Regions from separate parts of the Homo sapiens genome. Here all the other regions are linked to region 5. Evidence: promoter capture Hi-C in 16 types of primary human blood cells and fetal thymus (Javierre and others, 2016). All regions are on one chromosome and are shown on one strand. The core of a region is centred on a gene start or on the middle of the fragment in contact, and the rest is flanking DNA. Distances in the headings are between cores, read along the strand shown. Region 1 overlaps SETD3 (SET domain containing 3, actin N3(tau)-histidine methyltransferase). Region 2 overlaps SETD3 (SET domain containing 3, actin N3(tau)-histidine methyltransferase). Region 3 overlaps LOC105370660 (a long non-coding RNA gene). Region 4 overlaps SETD3 (SET domain containing 3, actin N3(tau)-histidine methyltransferase). Region 5 holds the start of VRK1 (VRK serine/threonine kinase 1). Region 6 overlaps CYP46A1 (cytochrome P450 family 46 subfamily A member 1). Region 7 overlaps BCL11B (BCL11 transcription factor B).

Evidence for each region. The method cuts DNA at HindIII sites, captures the fragments that hold promoters and counts their contacts. A CHiCAGO score of 5 or more calls a contact.
Region 1: a contact is called between a fragment that was not itself captured here and the fragment with the promoter of VRK1 in region 5, in 5 of 17 cell types (total CD4 T cells, total CD8 T cells, naive CD4 T cells and 2 more). The highest score is 8.1, in total CD4 T cells.
Region 2: a fragment that was not itself captured here is called in contact with the fragment with the promoter of VRK1 in region 5 in 7 of 17 cell types (non-activated CD4 T cells, fetal thymus, total CD4 T cells and 4 more); the score reaches 9.1 in non-activated CD4 T cells.
Region 3: a contact is called between a fragment that was not itself captured here and the fragment with the promoter of VRK1 in region 5, in 7 of 17 cell types (endothelial precursors, naive CD8 T cells, fetal thymus and 4 more). The highest score is 11.6, in endothelial precursors.
Region 4: a contact is called between a fragment that was not itself captured here and the fragment with the promoter of VRK1 in region 5, in 1 of 17 cell types (naive CD8 T cells). The highest score is 6.2, in naive CD8 T cells.
Region 6: a contact is called between a fragment that was not itself captured here and the fragment with the promoter of VRK1 in region 5, in 1 of 17 cell types (activated CD4 T cells). The highest score is 5.7, in activated CD4 T cells.
Region 7: a fragment that was not itself captured here is called in contact with the fragment with the promoter of VRK1 in region 5 in 1 of 17 cell types (endothelial precursors); the score reaches 5.2 in endothelial precursors.

The regions. Positions count from the first base shown.
Region 1 is chr14:99,427,474-99,430,292 of GRCh38, forward strand. All of the region lies in intron 6 of SETD3 (SET domain containing 3, actin N3(tau)-histidine methyltransferase), which reads right to left. Among named protein-coding and RNA genes, the nearest start is that of SETD3, 52 kb to the right of the region's middle. The HindIII fragment of the contact is 2,703 bases long and covers 187-2,819 here.
Region 2 is chr14:99,407,620-99,410,739 of GRCh38, forward strand. The region is part of intron 8 of SETD3 (SET domain containing 3, actin N3(tau)-histidine methyltransferase); the gene reads right to left. Among named protein-coding and RNA genes, the nearest start is that of SETD3, 72 kb to the right of the region's middle. RefSeq lists an enhancer at 801-1,367. The HindIII fragment of the contact is 4,765 bases long and covers 1-3,120 here.
Region 3 is chr14:99,279,243-99,282,359 of GRCh38, forward strand. It overlaps LOC105370660 (a long non-coding RNA gene), which reads right to left. Exons shown (of 3, transcript XR_001750881.2): 3 at 769-2,495. Among named protein-coding and RNA genes, the nearest start is that of BCL11B, 8.6 kb to the left of the region's middle. The HindIII fragment of the contact is 8,266 bases long and covers 1-3,117 here.
Region 4 is chr14:99,465,692-99,468,622 of GRCh38, forward strand. It overlaps SETD3 (SET domain containing 3, actin N3(tau)-histidine methyltransferase), which reads right to left. Exons shown (of 13, transcript NM_032233.3): 2 at 12-122. The coding sequence starts at 114. Among named protein-coding and RNA genes, the nearest start is that of SETD3, 14 kb to the right of the region's middle. The HindIII fragment of the contact is 3,398 bases long and covers 1-2,931 here.
Region 5 is chr14:96,795,679-96,798,852 of GRCh38, forward strand. It overlaps VRK1 (VRK serine/threonine kinase 1), which reads left to right and starts at 1,704. Exons shown (of 13, transcript NM_003384.3): 1 at 1,704-1,769. RefSeq lists silencers at 1,586-1,785, 1,796-2,085 and an enhancer at 2,030-2,561. The HindIII fragment of the contact is 2,825 bases long and covers 711-3,174 here.
Region 6 is chr14:99,687,896-99,691,023 of GRCh38, forward strand. The region is part of intron 1 of CYP46A1 (cytochrome P450 family 46 subfamily A member 1); the gene reads left to right. Among named protein-coding and RNA genes, the nearest start is that of CYP46A1, 5.2 kb to the left of the region's middle. The HindIII fragment of the contact is 1,618 bases long and covers 753-2,370 here.
Region 7 is chr14:99,249,833-99,252,740 of GRCh38, forward strand. All of the region lies in intron 2 of BCL11B (BCL11 transcription factor B), which reads right to left. Among named protein-coding and RNA genes, the nearest start is that of BCL11B, 21 kb to the right of the region's middle. The HindIII fragment of the contact is 5,573 bases long and covers 1-2,908 here.

The DNA.
Region 1 (2,819 bases), core at 288-2,787, 2.6 Mb after region 5:
AGGTGTTAAACTTTCAAGAAAGATTTTGCTTAATCTCAAAAGTTATCAAAGTAAAATAGCTATTATTTTATAGAAAACGATAAAGGAGGCCAAGGCATAAAGTGGTATAATTTTATCCTTGATGTACTAATGCACATTTCTGCAGCTTCAGAGCCACTTTAATCTCATCTTAAAGCTTCCCAGCAAAGCTTCGTCCGTCAACTCCCCAAACCTGCACTGTGTGTCTGCTGCGTGCAAGGCATTGTGGGGGGACAATGAGCAAGATGAGTTCCCTGCTTTTAAGGAGCCAACGACTTTGGAGCAGGGAGCCCAGACAGGCAAACTGTGACGTGTCACACCAGGATACATGACACGTGCTGGAATTCAGAAAAGAAGCTGCAGTCACTGTCGGGAAGAGGGGGATCTGGCAATGACTCACAGAGGAGGTGGCATGCGAGTTAAGTCTCTAAAGATGGGCAGGATTTTCCATGTGGGAAGGGAGACATCCCAGACAGAGAGTACCGGAAATGGCAGAGGCAGGGAAAGGAGGGCTTGTTAAGGGAAGCTGAGCAGCTGGGGTTTGCAGAATCGATTGGCACACAGAGGGATGAAAAGGTGCAATGCCAGTGCAGTCCCAACACATGAGGCCCTGCAGAGGGTGGCACAGTGCCCACGGCAGGAGCATTAGAGTATTAGCTATGTGGCCCCAAGCAGTGCTACCCATCTGGTCTGTTACTTCACATGTAAAATGAAGACAATCCCTGCTACCAGAGTTTGCTGGCACTTGAGAGGTGTCAGTAAGTTAGTATCCATCCAGGAACAAGGACTTTGTAGACACTGAGCACCCCCTGGTCTTCAGCATTTAGGAAAAGTAATCTGCCAAAGGATGAATCAAAACAAGTGGTGGAGGGGTTGGGTGCAGTGGCTCACACCTGTAATCCTAGCATTTTGGGAGGCCCAGGAGGGCAGATCACTTGAGGTGAGGAATTCGAGATCAGCCTGGGCAGCAGGGCAAAACTCCATCACTACCAAAAAATACAAACATTAGCTAGGTGTGGTGGCACACACCTGTAGTCCCACCAACTCGGAAAGCTGAGGTGGGAGGATTGTTTGAGCCAAGGAGGTGGAGTTTGCAGTAAGCCGAGATCATGCCACTGCACTCAGCCTGGGTGACAGAGTAAGTCCCCGTCTCAAGAAAAAAGAAAGAAAAACAAAACAAGTGATGGAGGAAGTGAGAAAATGTGGGGAGGGGGTAGGTGAAGTTTGAGAATCTGATAAAATCTATGGGCCTGATGTGGCAAGGAACTGAGGGTGGCCTCTAGCAACTGCCAGCAAGAAACCCAGGCACTGATGAACTGAAGCCTGCTGCCAATCACAGGAGTGGGCATGGAAGGCACCCTTCCCCAGTCACACCTTCAGATGAGACCACACCCTAACTGCAGCTTTGAGAGAGACCCTGCAGCAGACAGCCCAACTAAGCCATGCCTGCCTTTCTGACCCACACAAACTGTGAGATAATAAATGTGTGTTTTAAGCCTCTAAGCAGCAAAGAAAAAAAAATTTTAATTATGAACTTCTGGGTGTACTTCTCAAAAAAATTCACACAAACATATGACTATTAGTCAAGATGGGCTGGAATCTGCCATAATACGGTGTCTCCAGGAGTCATTTCTCACTCACTGCATGCTCCCTGGGTGCTGCCTGTGCCTCTGCTCCATGGGATCTCCACTCCATGATCCAGGAACCCAGTAAATGTTAGTGCCCTTCTGCACTGAACTGTTCTGTTCACAGGAACCAAACATATTTGCAGGAAAAAAAGAAGAGGATTTAAAAGGATGAAGAAAAAAGAAAGACACAAGGGAGGGCAAGTAAGTGACAGAACACAGACACAGGAGGCATCACACCACCAAGGGCACAGGCTGGACAAGAAAAGAAAAGTGAAGAAAAGGAGCACTGGTGAGACGCAGGGGAAACTCTGAGATGGAATGGAAAGAAGCCAAGAAATCTAAACATAAACAGAGCACCCCGATTCTCTTAAACGGGATGTAAGAGACTTTGCTTAGGGTGCGAGGCATTTGGTCTGTTTCATGATTGTCATTAATATGGTTATACCATTTCTTGTCTCTTTTGTTTCCATATATGTTCAGCATTCACTCAGTCATCTGATAACTAACATCCTATTTCAGTCCTAAATTTATGGGTTTTGGATATATCCAAGTTCTTTGAAACATGTGCTCTGTACTCCAGACAGACACTGGCTAGTTAAAACGTGAGGAAGAGGTGCCTCAACACCAGGAGTCTTGAACAGAAGCAAATCCAATATAGAAACCCATCTGAATCTTTTTAAGTCCCAAAGTTACTTATGAAAATCAAGTAATTTTAAGGCCTCCATAAGGCCTACCTTATATGCTTAAGGATTTATTTTGGTCTCCTCAATTCCACACACCTGTTTTCATTCTTTGAAACAGATGAAAACTGTGAAGTATAGAGGAAATGGTAAGATATTCTGGAGTGGGTCCAAAGACAAGCAGTCACTACCCCCAGCCATTAAACGAGAGGGGAGGGGGAGTGAGCCCAGCCTTGATGGCTCAAGATGGGCCTGATGGGCCCAGAGAGGGAAGCCCAGGAAACAGCGTTTTCAGTAAGTTTCCCAGGTGACTTATGCTCACTCGAGTTGAATCCAGGAACCAAGTTTAGCACTGGCTCCCACTGAGGAGGAGAAGAGTAAAGAAAGATCTCTGCTCTCTGAATAAAGCCCTCCCTGCCCTGGGTGCACAGATATGCACACACACATGCACAATGGGAGTGAAGTCTGGGAGAAGCTGAATTTCACACTGAGG
Region 2 (3,120 bases), core at 169-2,668, 2.6 Mb after region 5:
CTCCAGCTTCAGGAACTGCCACCCACCTGCCATCCCAGTTCCCTCCTGCCTGACACTACCTTCTACTCCTGTTGTGGCCTGGCTTCTCAGGGAAGCCCCTCCTTACCCTGCCCTCCTGTGCACTCCCACAGCCCAGTCCTTATGCGCTCCAGCCCAAGTCACGTTATCTGTGCACCTGCCTCCCCGTCGGTCACACTTGGAAGCTGGAGCCCCTTGTTGATCTCTGTGTCCCGAGTGCTCAGCACACAGAACCTAAAACCTGAAGTGGTCTTTGAGAATATTCACGTGATGCATGAACCCGCAGGGGAAAGGAAAGGGTCCCCAGCTTCTATTAAAACCTCCTTCTCAGAGTCCTGTCTTTTAGAGCAGCGCCCAATCTCTTAGGTTGTCTGTCGATGGTCACTGATTACTTTTTGACCTACTCATTTTATCCTGGAGAATCAAAGATTCACAGCAGCTACAAGTGCTCCTTGCTAATAAGGTATCAATAGCTTGGATTCAAAAGATGACTTCTGAGTCTAGGGAATGGCATTTTGGGATGGAAGGCCATGTAACACTAATCTTTAAACTCAATATCCCAAGAATAAATATGGTTTATTAACCATATGTCTAAATTTCCTTCATGCTTCTGATCTGCAAAGACCAGTGATAAATATGCAGCAATGAGAAATAAATGAAGCCAAGTATTCTAGAACATTTCACTCGCAGAACATTTTAAACACTTCAATTGAATGAAAATCAACTCCATGAAGTTCCTGCCCAACATCGGATGTACTTTTCTGACCCCAAAACATCACCTTGACAACAAAGTGGAATGAGAAGCTGCCCATATCATGAACTCCCAGGAGGGAGTCCAGGCACTCCCAGGGTGCTGGCAGTACAGGTACACAGGGACCTGCCAGCAGCACAAACAGGAGGGAGGTTAGAGGAAGGAAGAGAAAATTTAGGGAGATTGTGGAGAAAGGATTATGGGTGTTTAAGGGTATTTTACAGATATTTCCCACTCTCAGCAAACGTCAAGCTCAAGAAATAGTTTAACATGTCCACAGCAACCCGGACAGGCAAACAGGCTGGGATCCTGCCCCGGTCTGCAGCCCTTTCTCAGCAAGGGTCAGAATGTTTGGAGGCTGAGTGTCTAACTTCTTTGTGTGGCACTGCCAAACACTTCCTCTAGGACGGTATCAAGTGTGTCTCAGTGCAAAGAAGTGCAGGCGGAAGCACAGGCCTCGCCCCTCCCTTGCCTGAAGCCAGGTTTCTAGAGGACTCTCTCAGAGCAGAGCCCTCCCAGGGTGGGCCTGCAGAGGGGCCTTCCAAGGCTGTAAGGACCCCACTGCTCAGCAAGGGCCTTCTGGCAGGAGCCCCAGGAAATTACCACCTACGCCCAGAAATCTGCAGACGCTGACCAGGTCTGACTTGAAGCCCAGACTAGGAGAGGAGGGGTTGGGAAGGCCAGGGCTGGTCCAGGGGCAGCCACCCGATGTCAAGCAAGGACAGGGTCCTTCCACCTCCTCCTCGCCCAGCTCCACGTGCCGCTTCCTGCCTCCCACACTGCCAGCTAACTTCCCTTCTACAATACTGAGTGCCATACTATGCCAGGCCCTAAGCGAGGCACTTGGAAAATGGCATGAAAAGTCTCAGTCCCTACCCATAGGGACATCTAGTGGAAAAGACACAGGGAGAAAAAAATTTATATATATACGTATATATAAAAGCAAGTGGAACTGAGAATAGCCCCACAGGAGTCTCAAGTGTGCCCAGGGGAGGGGAGCGGGTGGCAGCCGGAGTTTGTTGGCAATGCTGGAGGAGGAACCCAGCAGGGAGTGGAAGCCTCCAGCAGCTCCATGGAGCCCTGCTCCCTGAAAGCCACCACCTGCCTGCAGCGCACACCACTCACATCTGTGGCTGGCTTGGTAACTCAATGGCACACTTGGTGCACAGCTGTATTCTAGTTTCGTTTACATATTAAAAGTAACATAGGAGGAAGAGCACGATATACATACACACACATCCCTAAGATGGAAACAGAGTGAGGACCATTTACATTTTCTTCTCTGTGTTTTTCAAATTTTCTTCCACAAATATGTATTATATTGATTTCATGGGGGGGGGGAGGATAAAGTAATACAGGCTCATCAAATAAAATTTGGAAAATATTTTTTAAAAAACAAAGAAAAAAGATCACAATCACGTTAACATTTTGGTTTATTTCTTTCTGATCTTTTTTCCTAGGCATGGGGCTTTTACAGTCATTTATTTACCGGTCATGAATTCATTAAAAACCACAGCGATATAGCAATGAGCAAAACAGACCCTCCCCCAAAATCACCCTGCGTTCATGGATCTTCCATTCTAATGGGAGGCGGGGGGGTGAACCAACAATAATTTTTTAAAAAGGCAGAAACAAGCGGATCTGGACAATAGAGGGAAATGTAACAGGACAGGGCAGGAGGGCGGATGAGCTGGAGGCGTAGTCATTCCACATAGGGTGCTCAGGGCAGCCACGCTGGAGGAGGTCTATGAGTGAGTCCCGTAAGTGCCTAAGGAATGGAGGGTCTTAGGCAGAGGCGACAGCAAGAGCGAAGGAATCTTCTGGTGTCTGAAGAATAGCAGGGAACCAGAGGTGAGTCAGACCTGTGTGCACGGAGGGTGTGGGGGGACAGGTTGTTCGGAGAGACTTGTCTGCTATTGTAAAAATGGGCTTTTGAGACTGTAAGACTCATCTAAATATAAATGTTTTAGATTTTTTTTTCAATACACAAACAGAAGGACCCTGAAAAAGAACTTCCCTCCGTTGTGCCTGAATTTCCAGCTGCCCTTTCATCCCACCTGGTAGAGTCGCAGATTCAAATGCAAGCACTGATTATTCCAACATACTCTCTGTATGGGAACTAATACCACTGTCTAACAGTCACTTAGAAGTATCCTTGTCATATCAACCGAAAAATCCTCAACAAAGGAAACCTGCTGCTTACATTAAGTTTGAACAAATCATGCAAGATATAAAGATGTGTTGTTTCTTCCAGCTTAGTACCACACCTTATAACCCTTCCTACATTTATTTCTCTGAGTGGCTAGGAAATTAGTTTATATTCACCAGAATCTCTAGCCTAGGTGTTCATC
Region 3 (3,117 bases), core at 183-2,682, 2.5 Mb after region 5:
AAGCTGTTGCCGATAATAACTGGAGCCTTTTTCTGAGCCAACCGTTCCACCTGGACCTCAGTACAAATTATTGTTTTCAATTACCACCTGTGTATTCCTTCCCATGCAACTTATTGATGTAAAATTACAGCTACACCGGTATAAATAAGTTATGCTGCAGTTGTAAAATGGAAGAAATTTTGTTGTAGCAATTATGTTCAGCAAGATGACAAAATAAATTTCCAGAGCTGTGCCTGCAGTAACCTGGGGAATTTAAACCTCATAATTTCCATTCATTTCAGATAATTTGGAGTAATTTCTATATGTAATAACTTTGTAATGAAAAACACAGCGGTACTGAAGTGATTTCGCTCCGTTTTTTTCTCCTATGGTATACATGGCACAAAATAAATGATAAAAATAATATTTCCTTTTTATATGTGTGTGTGTTGAGTAATTCCTTCAGTAAAAATCATAAACTAATACCCAGACTAAATCTCTGTCCACAAAATGAAAAATAAATTGAGTTAAAGAAAGTGAAAAAGTATGAAGGGCTTTGGATGCTTTATTGTGACTTTATTGAATTGTTTTGTTCCCATGCTCCCTCTGATCCCTAAGGGTTACAGTTCCCAAGTAAGGGGCAAATGCAGGGGAGCCCCAGATGGCTCAGAGGAGGTAGCAGGGGGACCCCCAAAGGCCAGGAAACCCTCGCCAGATGGTGATTTCTCCCCAGAAGCATAAGAGACTCGTTCTCCTCTTGAGATGAGCATCTTTAACGGTTGATTTCACTGCGACTGGAAAGGACCTGGTAGGCTGGTCAGTGGTCCTGTCAGTTCTGACATATTTCCTCCTTTAATTAAAGACAAGGCAAGGTGGAGCACCAGTGCCCTGCCCGACCTATGACGGTGACACCTGCCACTGATGTATGCAGCCCCTGAATGCCACGATTTATTCATCGGAAGCTCCCACTGAGCTGTGAGAAGGTGACAGGAATTACAGCAGCTGCATTAGCTCCCAGATCCACGCGATTAGCCTCTGCCACTGCCACGGTGCACATCAAGGGTTTCCTCAAAGTGAAAAATCGAGGCGTCATTCCCTAAAACCTGCCTGCTAGTAGTCACAGCTAGTGACTGTCAGTAGCCTCCCCACCAGCCATGAGGGCTGCCTGCTGCCTTGAAGTAGAATGGCTCCCCTGCCCTGCAAACCCTGGCCTGCTACATGCTGCCAGGGTGCCCATCTGGAAGCTCAGGCTTTGGCTGAGTCGGCTGGGGAAAGGGCATTCATTTCTCAGGCTCTGTGGTCTCCCTGTCAGATGGGCTTCACCGCTCTGTATAAGCGGTGATGAGTGGGTCTTAGCAAAGCGCCTGGCCCGGTCTCTCGCCATGCAGCAGTCGCATCATAAGCATGGCTGTGATTTGTTCCTTCAACAACACACGCGGATGGGACGCCTGCTGTATGCCAAGCACACCATGGGGGACAGGGCCCAAAGATGGCAATATTGTGAGGTGGTGGTACTGAGGTTCCAAGTTCAGGCAAGCCTGAATCTGACACACCACCCCAGCTCCAAAGAACAGAGCAAGGGAAAACAAAAGTTGATGACATAGTTCAGCAATTATAGTAGTGAGAGTACAGCCCATCACATGGACTCATGGCCATGTGTCCCAAGTGCCATGGGAGCAAAGCAGCAGGGCTCAGGGGTCCTGAGCACAGATTGCAGAATTCTTCCAAGACCCTCAAGACCTACTCATTCAAAGAGACACTCTGTCTAATTACATTGTGAGGCATTTATCTTATCTAATCCTCAGAAGAGAAAGACTTTCATCCCCCTTAGACAGGAAACCCGAAGTCAGCCACCACGAGGTAGAGCCCAAATCACCCCAGGTCTGTCTCTGTGTATAACCACTATGCCGTCCTATACCCAGGTTGGATTTCCAGCCATCCTGCAAGCCAATAACAGGCAGCTGAAAACATCACCAGATGTGGAACCAGAACAGCAAAGACAAAGTCAGTGCTGGATCGAGACATGGAGGAAGGAAGAGAATTACAGAGAAACAAAGTTTGCATTAAGGACACAGTATACTCAGTTAGTAGAAGAGATTTTGTTTGTTTGTTTGTTTGTTTGAGACAGCAAAATCCAACAAGACACACCACGGTTATGAAACCAGATAATTGAGGCAGAGAGAAATGGGGTGGAGAGAGTGGGGTAAGACAGACGTTTCTGCTGGTAAAATTTGAAACAGACAAACAACTCATGTTGGGACAGAGTTTTAGTGTACAAAGCCCTTTTGCTTCCCTGACTTGAGTTTGTCCTCCCAGCAGCCTGTGAGAAAAGCAGGACAGGGCACACACAGCTTGATATACGCCTCCGAGATCGCCAGGGTCAAGTCTCCGCTGCGCCCGCTGCTAGCTGCAAAAGCCTTCATGCGGTTTCTCTTCTCGACATCCCAGGTCCTCCTCTATCAACGCCTCTGTGAGCATCTCATCAGATGACCTCTCAGAAAGCCCCCAGCACAGGCCTGGCACAGAGGAGGCATTGAATAAATGATAGATATTATTATGGAGGCGTTTTACTCATGAAACAAGAGATTCACATTCAACTCAGTCTAAGGTACACACGTCAATATTTCAGGAATGAAATGGGAAATTTCCCCCAGATTTCACTGGTACATAATCGACTAATATTGATGAAGCATCTTGTCTCAGCGCTGCTGTAACAAAATACCTGAGACCGCGTAATGTATACAGAATAGATATTGCCGGGCGCAGTGGCTCATGCCTGTAATCCCAGCACTTTGGGAGGCCAAGGCGGGCAGATCACCTGAGGTCAGGAGTTCAAGACCAGCCTGGCCAACATGGTGAAACCCCATCTCTACAAAAATACAAAAATTAGCCAGGCATGATGGTAGGTGCCTGTAATCCCAGCTACTCAGGATGCTGAAACAGGAGAATCGCTTGAGCTTGGGAGGCGGAGGTTACAGTGAGCCGAGATCACGCCATTTTACTCCAGCCTGGGTGACAGAGTGAGACTCCATCTCAAAAAAAAAAAAAAAAAAAAAAAAAGAATAGACGTTGATTTCTCACATTTCTGGAGGTTGGCAAGTCCAAGATGAAGGCGTCAGAAGGTTCAGTGTCTGGTGA
Region 4 (2,931 bases), core at 349-2,848, 2.7 Mb after region 5:
GGAGGACTTACTCTGCAGCAGCTCACTGGTCAGGTTCAAGATTTCCTTTGGTGACACAGTTGCTGTAGCACCAGTGCCAGATTTCTGAGTTTTTACTCGACTCTTCTTACCCATTTTTCTGACTACAGAGAAGAGAAAGAAAAGAGAAAAAAATTACATTACCAAAGAACAAAATCAAGTAATAAAACATGTCCAACACATGGCAGTGTCTTAGTCTTCAGAGGCTAAGATCTTACCTTACATGAAGTTTTCTTCCAGAAAAAGAAATGTGTAGTATTAGTATCTAGAGGTTCTCAAATGGGAAAAAAAAAAATCTGCTTTGTAGTCTCTGGAAGAAAAGTTCGTTCTTTTTCACCTACAAAAACTATAGTAGAGCAAATTTTACTCTAGATTTTTTTTTAATTACATAGATTTCACTGTGCAGACTAACATATTCCAGGATACTAGAGAGATAAAACCCATGCATACATCATACACATATGGGCATAAAGACCTATATATTCTCTCCCCACTTTGCCTTAAAATAATCATTTCCCATTAACCATAACTGTATCATAAGCAACTGATCACACTCTCTGGACAAATGCTGAAGACGTTTTAGAGCTGGAAAAAACTCTGGCGAGCTAGTCTAACTCCTGCATTTTGCTCCATGGGAAATCCCAAGCACCTTGCCTGGGATTTCACAGGAAGCTGATGGCAGACCCGGGACTTGAACGAGGTCTCCCGTCGCGTTCCAGTGTGCCACACACGGGTCCTCTGCGGGCATGTGAGAAATGATGAGCATATTTTCACACGCAGATGAGACCATGTGGTATAGGACACGCCATGGTGTCCTGGGTAAAGACCCTATGAGATAATGCTTGCTTGCAAGTGCTTTTAACAATAGGTCTCAAAGAAAGTAAGGGACATGGATGTGTGAAGAATGGCGGGGGGGGGGGGGGGCATTCAAAGACAGGGACAGGACTAGAAGCGTGAGGGAAGCACAGTGAGGAAGGGAACCCGGCTGGAGAGGGGGTCTCTAGGGAAGCCTAGCGAGGCAGCCACTCAAGACAGGGTGATAGTCACTGCCAGAGGAGTCTGGCTTTGATTCTCCAGAGACAAGGGGCTAAGATCATGACCAAGGAAGATGGAAAAAGTGTCCAGCCAAGAAGCTGGTAGGGCGATCCATAAGCTAATGAATAACAAACCACCACGAGGATGGCCTCCAGGAGCCCCAGTCAGTTACACTTTATCTCAAGTGAGAATCAAAAAGCAGACTTTGGTCCATTTGTTTTTTACAAAAAGTGGTAACTATCACCATGTGAAGAACTATGCTAGGACAAAGGTTTAAAACATATTCTCCCACTATACAGATGATCATTGACTCTGCTGTAACTGAGTCCATGCAAATATGGCCATGTGCTAAAACAGTAGGACATCACATTATTTAACAGGCTAACGTGTGTATCTTCTCTTATGTATCTAACGTATAAAGAATAATGTGTAACACATTAATATAATAAGTCTTCTAAAAATCAGTGTAAAATACACAGTGTCAGTCATCCTGGAATAAAAGGAAACTGGTAAAAATACATAAAACTTTTGCAGCAATACAAGGAATTTTTTTTCTGTGATCAAAAGCAGAAAATTTAAGTGAGGGGAGGGCAGGATGACAGACAGCTTAAGCACCTTTTCCTATGCTTAAGAAATGTCTTCTTAGAAGAGAAAAAAATCTCCCCATGGTTCTGGCTCACAGCCAAGAGCAAGGGCACAGCCTGGACACAGCACCTCCACCCTTCTGGGCATTTCAGGCTTCCCATATCTGCGGAGGGCATCTCTGGAGGACCATCGAACTTGACCTGAAAATAACTAAAACCACCAAGGAGTCTGGTAATAAGGACGTTAATCACACTTCCAAATATAGTGGGTCTGCTGGCTTGGCAGGAGGAGACGCAGAAGCATCCTGTCAGCAATGGCTTAGCTGGCCTCTCCCTTCAGCCTTGCCTGAAAGACCTTCTGCTGTGGGAGCCTGTAAACGAGGCAAGAACGTCACTTTGATGAGGAGCTCCAAGACCCTTTCCCTTCTCTTAACAGTAAGTGAGCCTGGGACAGGGCTGTTCTGCACCGGCCCTCACAGGGTGCCCACCAACAGCTACAAAACAGGCTCTATTCGCTCTGCCTGCAGCCCCTCACCTCCTCCAAAGTCTTCTCTCAGCTATCCACCCAACTCCAGTTGCTCATTGATGTAACAGCAGCTGTTCCCTGGAGCTCAGTATTTACCCTCTGCCAGGTGCTGGACTAAGACAGAGCTCTTCATTTGATCTTCCTCGCACTTTAAGCAGTAGATACCATCCTCATCTTTCAGATGACATTGTCAGAAAGGTTAAGTCCCTTCTCTTTGTCCAAGGTCATGCATCAGGTAAGAGGTACAGCTAGAATCTGAACCCAGAACCACTACCACACTGCCTCTGTTTAAATACAGATTTAAAAAAAAAAAAAAAAAAGTACATGGCAGCAGGTCTTCCAGATCAAATACCATGGGATATGGCCCCACACCCCGCCACAACCCTGCCAGCAGCCACTCAGCCCACACCTAGGCAGCTCCAGCCACTTCCTCCTGCACCTCCTGAACGAGTCCTCATGGTTAGACCCTAACACTAGTCTCGTACATCTCCCTGCCCAAGCCTGTCCCTGCTGCTTAAATCTACCCTCACGCTGCCACCACCCTAAATAGTAGGAAATCACATTATTTAACAGGCTAACATTGCTATCTTCTCTTATGTATCTAATGTATAAAGAATAATGTGTAACATGTTAATCTAATAAGTCTCCTAAAAATCAGTGTAAAATATACAGGGTCAGTCACCCTGGAATAAAAGGAAACCAGCAAAAATATGTAAAACACCCTCCCAGCAACACCAAGGGCTCCCAGTCCCTCTACAGACGTCATCA
Region 5 (3,174 bases), core at 454-2,953:
CAGCTGAGGGACCTGCCAACTGGAGGTGACCTTGCCAGTCAGGATCCAGGGGCTTAACCTACTCTAACCAACCTTTCTTTTTCCTCCAATCTTCTGTGGGGTTCTCCACTGGGCACGCCCCAAAGCCAGGGGGCACAGGGAGCGCGAAGTAATTTGTAGAGGTCAGCCTCCTGGGGCAGAGGGCAGGCAGGAGAAGTATTTGGAGCAGATGAGGGTATCTGGAGGGGAAAATGTAAGACATCAGGCACAATATTGCCCTGTCTAATGGACAGAGTGATTCCAGGTTTTGTAGGGACTGAAGCTCACATAATTTTGGGGGATCTACTTTAAGAAAAATCAGCTGGGTGTGGTGGCTCATGCCTGTAATTCTAGCACTTTGGGAGGCTGAGGCGGGGTGGATTGTTTGAGCTCAGGAGTTCAAGACCAGCCTGGGCAACATGGTCAAACCCTGTCTCTACAAAAAATACAAAAATTAGCCAGAAGTGGTGGCCTGTGCGTGTAATCCCAGCTACTCGGAGGGTTGAGGTGGGAGGATTGCTTGAGCCCAGGAGGTCGTGGCTGCAGTGAACCGAGATCGCGCCAATGCATTGCAGCCTGGGTGACAAAGTGAGACTATATCTTTAAAAAAAAGAAAAAGAAAAGTAAAATCGACAAATAAACCCCCAAAGCTATGTAAACTCATTGAGGGACCTGCGCAAGTGAGGTCCTGAAGCTTACGCTTCATTGGCTTCATTGTTAATCTCCCTCTGCCTGTGACTTCAGTGATTTTGACCTAGAACAATGACCCAGTGCCCAATAAGCTCTCAGCCTCATGGGTGATGGAGACTTAGCTGATTATAATAAACACAATGCGGCCGGGCGCGGTGGCTCACGCCTGTAATCCCAGCACTTGGCGAGGCCAAGGCGGGCGGATCACAAGGTCAGGAGATCGAGACCATCCTGGCTAACACGGTGAAACCCCGTCTCTACTAAAAACAGAAAAAAATTAGCTGGGCGTGATGGCGAGCGCCTGTAGTCCCAGCTACTCGGGAGGCTGAGGCAGGAGAATGGCGTGAACCCGGGAGACGGAGCTTGCAGTGAGCCGAGACTGTGCCACTGTACTCCAGCCTGGGCGACAGAGTGAGACTCCGTCTCAAAAAAATAAATAAATAAAAATAAATAATAAACACAATGCAAACTGTGGCATACGTTGATTACAGATGAAACACTATAGATGATTAGGTAGACATTGAGATATGCTTTGAAATAGGCTTCGAAAAACAGGTAGGATTTAGACACATATCAATGAGTGGGCAGAATAATACTAACACTATCTGCTATTTATTGAGCACCAACTAAGTTTAAAGTACTGCCTATAGATTATTTCATTTAATCCTAACAGAAACAGGAAACTTATTTTACACCCAACTCTCTGCCAATACACTTAATAAATCAAGCTACTACGAACAAGGCTGTAAACCACATTTCCTAGAAGACCAGGGAGCAGAAGGACGGGGATCTCCCTTTGCCGCTAAGAGACTCCAACTCCCAGGATGCCTTGGGAGCGCTGGACCACAGCTCCCGGCATTCCCGGGGAGGCGCGGGGCTAGCGTAGCCTCCGCCCCGCGCCTCGCGTTACCACTCGTCCCGCCCCTCCTCGTCGCCTCCGAGCCAATGGGAAGGCTCCATACTGCAGGGTGCGAAGGGGCCGGCGCCGCTGCCGAGTTACGAGTCGGCGAAAGCGGCGGGAAGTTCGTACTGGGCAGAACGCGACGGGTCTGCGGCTTAGGGTAGGGAGGCCGCAGGCGACACGGCTCGAGGACTCGCGCGCCGAGCCGGGGGCGCGGAGGCGGGCGGCCGGGGCTGGGGCCGGCACTGGGCCTTCCGGGCGGCCTGTGGGTCCACCGGGGTGCGGGAGTCGCCGTCAGCCTCGGTCGCCCCGCGGGACCGCGCTCCGCCGCGTGGCTTCCGCCTGCGCGGGCGTCCGCTCCTTCCTTGTCTCGTTCAGGCCCCGCAGGCGCCCCCGGGGATGCCTGGACTGGCCAGGCCGGCCCCCATCTGAGCTCCACGTTCTGGACGCGCGTGGTGTCGCGGCCGAGCTCGCAAACGCCGCCTCGGGCCTCACCGGGAAGCCGGTTCTGTCAGGCGGGGCTCCGGGTGAACAGCGCAGGCGAGGCCCCTGCCCCGCAGAGCTCACTCTGTAGAAGGGAAACAACACACGCAGCTGCGATGTTTTGCGGATACGGAAATGCTTTCTTAGAAACGGGACAGGCAGTTGCGGGCTAGAGGAATGGGGGCGAGGCTCTTTAGGTTAGGTGATCCGGGAGGGCATCTCAGAGGATGTGACCTTTGACTTGAGACCTGAGAGGGGAGGCCGACCCCTGAGGATAGCAGCCAGGCCTGGGGACCGCGAGGCCGCCCGTTATTTCCCTGTCACATCGCGGGGAGGCCCCGTGATCCTGTACTTGAGGGTCTGTCTGGTGCAAGGCAGTTAGAGCCGCTTGTGTGTTTTGCAAGGGACTTTCATAACCGTTTGACAGTTCCTCCTCATTCTGTCCTTACCTGGCAGGGTGGCATCCTTTACTGTTGCAGCTCCATTCAGGGGCAACGCATAGTTTTTCCTACCACCGAAATAGTATTGTGGTTCTCGTCTCAAAACTCTTAGGTGGTAGAATTAAATTCGACAGACAGCAGCAGAGTCAGACACTATAGGTTCCTGTTGAGGCCACCCATTTTTCTGATGTCCTTTCTTTCAAGTCACTCATTTTTGTTTTCCTTTGTATAGACTCTTCCCTTCCCTTTCCTGTGTCCCTTTCTTGGAACAACTTGGAAATACAATTTGCTATTGGGAGGATGTTGGTTTTAGGGAACTGTTGAAGAACTTCATTAATTATTGTGTGTGTGTTTTTCTTTTCTTCTTCTTTTTTTTTAAACTGGAATTGCCCATCTGTTGAGACTGAAATTCAAGAGTAAAAAAAAGTAGGGCAGCATTTATTTTCAAGAGTTGACAATAAAGGCACCTTTCTTTATGACATGCTGAGCATGATACTTTGGGGGAGAATTTAATCTAGAATTTTGAAGCATTTTCAGAAGGAAGCAAGGGTTCTTTATATAGTCATTTTATGTAGGTTACGTTTATGTTCTTCAAAATGGCATGTAGTGATTGGAATTAAATTTCTGGGTAGATAAGATTAT
Region 6 (3,128 bases), core at 312-2,811, 2.9 Mb after region 5:
TAGCCTTACCTGCTTGTTTTTAACACCTGGGTCTTCCTGTTCTGTTGTCGCCTCCCCAGCGCCCCCTGCAGGTGCCAGAAGGAATGGGTTTTTTTTCCCCTTTCTTGGTGGGCCATGAGGACCCCACCCCTCTCTGTGCCCTCTGTCTTCCTGAGATGGCACTCACCTTCCTTCCCATGTGGCAGGGAACCCCAGGGGTTAGGGTGGAAGCTCTGGGCTCAGACTCTGTCCTCACTTAAGTGACTCAAAACTGAGAACATTCCCCCAGAATGTGAGCTTTGGGAAGCGACAATGAGGACACTAGATTACTCTGGAAATACATCCAGGCATGTGTGATGATCACAGCCCATCTTCCTGCAAGTTCAAGGCCACTCACCTGGCGTGGGCCTCCACTGCGGGCAGGCGGCCACCCCGTACTTCCTTCCCCAGGGCGTTTATTCGCCTACTCTCCCTTCCTGCTTCAGTCCCCATCACCTCCCCCTCCATCCGCACTCTCAGCTTTTATTCTTGCCTCCTACTTCCCTGAGCAAAGGGAGCAGCCGGTGAGAGTTTCCTTCCTGGGCTCCACTGAGCAGCTGCCCACCTCCTGCCCCAGGCCCACGCACACCTTCCAGCTGTTCCGGGAGGGTAGCCCAGGCCAACCTGCCCCCTCTGCTCAGCAACCCTGTCCTAGGAGCACCCCCACCTCCAAATCAGCACTTTTCCTCCTCTTCTGCATCATCCCCATTTTTATATAATATGTAAGAATTCAAAGCTTGGAACAAAACCTTTCCCTTCACCCTCTCGTTCCCTGTAGCTGCCGCCCCCTATGGTAACCCACCTGGCTGACTGCCTGCCTTTGGGCCTCCCTTTTCTCCCCTCTGGTTCTCTCTGCCCCATACCTCTCCACCAAACTTGCTGGGGGCTCGGTTCCCGGTGATCTCCATGTTGTCGCACCCAGCCGTCAGCCCTGGATCCTCGTCTGACCTGGCCCCCAGCAGCCTGGGCAGAGCCGATGCCCCCTCCGCCTTGTCCCGCATCCTCCTCTGGCTTCTCACCCAACTCTCCTGGCTCTCTTCCCTCCTCCCCAGTGCTCCCGCTCAGTCCACTTGGCTGGCTGTCCCTATGCTCCCAACTTCTCAGTGATGGCTTAGTTCTTGGTCCTCTTCTCTGTCTGTATCCATTCCCTTGTGGCCTCATCCAATCACTGGGCTGGAAATACCACTTCTCTGCTGTGGGCTCTCAAATTTATGTCTCTAGCCTACAGCCCTTCCCTGGGCTCCAGATCTGAGTGTCTAACTTCCTGCTCAATAGTCCACCACAAACCTTACCGGTCCCAAGCCAAGCTCCTAATTTCATCTGCTTGTCTGAGATTGGTCCCCCCAAAGCTGATCCTGAGATAAGAAATGAAGTGTAAGTAGTTTAGGAGGTGGGGGATGATCCCAGTTTGAGCAGTGGGAGGAGGAGAGTGGATAAAGAAGGTAAACAAACCAATAAAACAAGTTACCTCTTGGGGAAACAGGTGCAATTCCCTGGGAACCCTGGGGACTTGTGTAGAGCACATGCCCAGAGCTACCCCAGAAGTGGAGGGGCTGAGGTCATTGGTGGAGGGCTGCTCAAAGTGGGTTCATCTCCTGTGGGCAGAGCCAGAGACGGCCCTGGCAAATTGCAGGGGGTGGGCACGGTGGCTCTGCCACCCCAACCAGCTCCTCCTCATCTTGGTAGATGGTCGCTCCATCCATTCTTCCAGCAGCCCAGGCCAAAAACACAGAGTCATCCTCACACCCCCATAGCCAAACGGCACGTTCCAGTATTCCGCCTCACAGAGCATTCAGAATCTGACCTCTTCTTATCATTGCCTCCGCTGCCCTGCTCTGTTCTGAGCCCTCGTCACCTCTCCCAGTCCTTCCCTGTCACTAGTGTCCCTGCTTCCTCCCCTACCCTGGTTACTCTCTGCACTGCTGCAAAACAATCCATTCAAACCCAAGTCAGATCCCATCTCTGCTCTGCTCAAAACCCTCTAGTGGACCCCAGCTCACCAAAGTCAAAGCAAAAATCTGGACCACAGCCCACAAGGCTCTACATGACCTGCCCCCAGTCTTGGTGACCCACCTTGTACTCTGTTTCCCTCAAGTACTCTGCCCGAGCCACACTGGCTTCCTCACTGTCCAAGCACACTCTGACCTCAGGACCTTGGCACCTGCTGTTCCCATTGCTTGGAAGGCTCTTCCCCCGCTTCTTGCAGGTCTCATCTCACAAGCCACCCTCTTAGAGGGACACTGCGTGCCCTGCCTGCATTAACCCATTTATGCCTGAGGTTGCAATTTTTTGAATTTGAAAAATCAGACCTTGGTGTTGACCTTGAGCAGTAGGACATAAATAACTTCCACAAGCTTAGCGTTCCAATAATGGAACACTAGGCATAAATGGGTTTTAAACGGACACCCACACACTCATCCCCAGCCCTTCCTCTTCCCCGTACTCTGTTCTCTTTTTCTCCTATCACCCTCTGACATTGTCTTTACTTGTTTATTTACTCTCCGCCTTTCCCTGGGAGAACGTGATTTTGTTGTCACCCATTGGGGATGCTGCATTGAGCTTGGTAGGAATAAAGTCATACAGGAGACAGGAAGTCATGGGCCCCTTGGAATGAGCTTCAGGATGACACTGCACTGGCTTCTTTACAATTTGGTGAACACAGCAGATTTATATGACCAAACCATCCCTTGCTGAGATGGGCTTTGGGGAGCCCTGGTACCAGCTGTGCAATTGTGGGCAAATGACTTCACCCTTTCATCTCGGCTGTCCTATATAATACGGTTAATAACAGACTGATCAGCCATGTGGGGAGGTTGGAGGGGTGAAGCCTAGCGTGGTGGTGCCCAGCCTGGTCAGTATTGGGGAATATCTGAGGGTGATCCCACACAATATTATTGAGTCCTTTCTATCTGCCAGCCCCCAACTTCTGTGCCAGGGAGACAGGAAAAAAAACTGTTTCTTCTCCAAGGGGGTCTTTGGAGCTGGTCAGACCTGGGTTTGCATCCTGTCTTCATTCTTACTGCCTGGTGTCCCTGAGCCAGTGCTGTAACCTCCCCATGCCTCGGTCCTCCTGTCTGTGAAGTGGGCCTAGTAATAAGATCTTGTGGGGA
Region 7 (2,908 bases), core at 347-2,846, 2.5 Mb after region 5:
AAATTTAACATCAGGCTGGGTGCGGTGGCTCGTGCCTGTAATCCCAACAGTTTGGGAGGCCGAGGCGGGTGGATCACCTGAATACAGGAGTTTGAGACCAGCCTGGCCAACATGGCAAAACCCCATCTCACTAAAACTACAAAAATTAGCCAGGCAGGCGCCTGTAATCCCAACTACTCAGGAGGCTGAGACAGGAGAATCTTTTTTTTTTTTTTTTTTTTGAGATGGAATCTCCTTCTGTCGCCCAGGCTGGAGTACAGTGGCATGATCTCGGCTCACTGCAAGCTCCACCTCCTGGGTTCACACCATTCTCCTGCCTCAGCCTCCTGAGTAGCTGGGACTACAGGCACCCGCCACCATGCCCAGCTAATTTTTTGTATTTTTAGTCGAGACGGAGTTTCACCGTGTTAGCCAGGATGGTCTCGATCACCTGACCTCATGATCCCCCCGCCTCGGCCTCCCAAAGTCCTGAGATTACAGGCGTGAGCCCCCGTGCCCAGCAGGAGAATCTCTTGAACCTAGGAGGCAGAGGTTTTGGTGAGCTGAGATCGCGCCCTTGCACTCCAGCCTGGGCGACAGCGAGACTCTGTCTCAAAAATAAATAAATAAATTTTACATGAAATTAGGAAAAACTCCATCTCTTTGTTTCCTCAGTGAAAAGATGACCCCAAAGGCACAGGGTGACAGCCAGTCAGCCTTATTTCTATAGATTATCAGCAGAGCCCACTCCTAACAGATTCTAGACCTGGTGGTTAATTCATTAGCCAAGCATGCAAATGAGCAACAACCACTCAAAAAAGCTGTCAAATGCCTGATTAAAAAAACTTTAGTCAATACTAACTATTTACTGTCAAATAGACAAACTAAGAATAATAATATTAACTCAGGCTGAATGTTGGTTAAGTTCACCCCTTGGGAGCCCAGCTGCCTTTCTCTCTTTTTCTTACCTTATCTCTCTCTCCTGTTTCCTGAATTACTGCTGGAAGTATGGAACTACGTACATAAAACAATAAATAAGGCCTCAAACCTTAAGAGAAAAAAAAAACACCCATTTATGTGACCAGTATTGTCTGTCTTTTTTTTAATCCAATAAAACTTTCAACTACAATCGGTGCTGATGTCACCATGTTAGCGGCACACACTCTTGACTCTGGTTTGCACAGTTCACATGGCAGGTGGGTCCACCGCCTCCCTGGAAGGCCAGTGGGACAGGAAGGGCTCACCCCCTTTCTCAGCTGAGGAAACTGGGACTCCACCAGGGGAGATGGCCTCAAGCTACAGGGGTGGGCACCCTGGGATGGCAAAAAGTCACCTGTCCTGACTCGAGATAATTGGGGTCTGGACTCAGCTCTGCCAGTAACTAGTTATGTAAGTTCAGACAAGTCACTGAGCAGGTGAGAAGGGAAGAGTTGGCAGCAAGGTCCTTCCAGGAGGCTAGGAAGCCAGACCCTTCCTCTGGATCCCACCGGCAGGATCTCCATTATCAACAACAGCTAAAACCCACAGGAACCTGTTCTATGTATACCTTGTCTGAATCAAACCTTATAACAAGCCCAAAACACAAGGAACATTATCTCCAGTTATAGGTACCGAGACCTGGGGAGGCAAACAGTTGGCTGACAGTCACATAGCAAGACCCTGGCAAAACCACAATTCCACAAAATAAAACAAATAATTTGTATTTATGGGGGAAAAGTCTATGCAACAGTGAATATAAAATAAAAGAAATAATCATATGTATGGGAAAAAATCTAAAATTCTGGCCCAGGTGCACCTGAATTTACAGTGTACTTCATTCTTTGTCACCACCCATCTCTCCAATGCCCTCATTAGGAAGTACAGGACAGTATATACAAAAGCCACAGACTGAAGGCCATGGTCCCTGGGGGTCTGAGGACTTCTGGCTGTATCCACAGGGTCATATCTGGGATGGGCTTCAAAGACCATTTTGGATGGGGTCAGAGGTGGTGCCCGCCATCAAGGCCCCACCAGCCAGACAGACAGAGTTAGAATACCCATCCCCAAAATCCTCCACACCCCTTGCTATCCAAGGAAACTAGGCCTGACTGAGTCTGACTCTGCTTTGCTGTGTGACCTTCAGCAACTCCCTTAACCTCTCTGAGCCCCAGTTCAAAGTAGGGTTAGAAATATATATTTCAAGGTTGAAGAATTAAGTGAGATAACCCAAGAAAAGCATCTAGCACAATGAGGAATACCAGGTAGCGCCCCTCTTCCCCACCACCCACCAGCCCAGCCCAAACTCTGCCCTGTTCAGCCATCCCAACACCCAAACCCCAGCCTGAGCCCAGGGCCATGTCCCTCAGACAGAACACTGCACTATTCCTCGGTGCAGACAGAACTAATAATTAGCTGTCATGATTTAATAATAAAAAAAGATAATCCATGCCACAACACACATGGATTTAACGCATCTTAATTTGAAGGGAAAATAACAACTCTAAATAGATCAAGTGCAAGTTTTTTAAGGCAACCTGCGAGTGGGGTTTATCTCCAGTTTCCAGCACAAGCAAGTTATTTAGTTTCTCTCACTAGCCAAGCTAATATTTTTTTTCACGTTTATTTTATTTATTTTTAAAAGTCTGGAGAGAACATTCCCAAAGCAGCACGTAAATCCCTGGGCTCGTCAGAAGTCCTTTTCTCTCACACATTTTGCTTAGCAATGGGTCACTGGGGCCCCAAACCAAACCCTTATCTGTGCCCCACCTGCTAAGAGAATCTCCCAGGTAGATCCCGCGTCCTCCCTAGGTTGTGGATGAAGACATATCAAGTGGGCAGGGACATCGCAGCCAGGGCTGCCTGCCACCTCCAAGCCCAGAGGGATCTGCCACCTCCTGTCACCTGCTGCCTGTCTCCGCACTTCTCCAGAAAACTGACATTCAGGACTTGG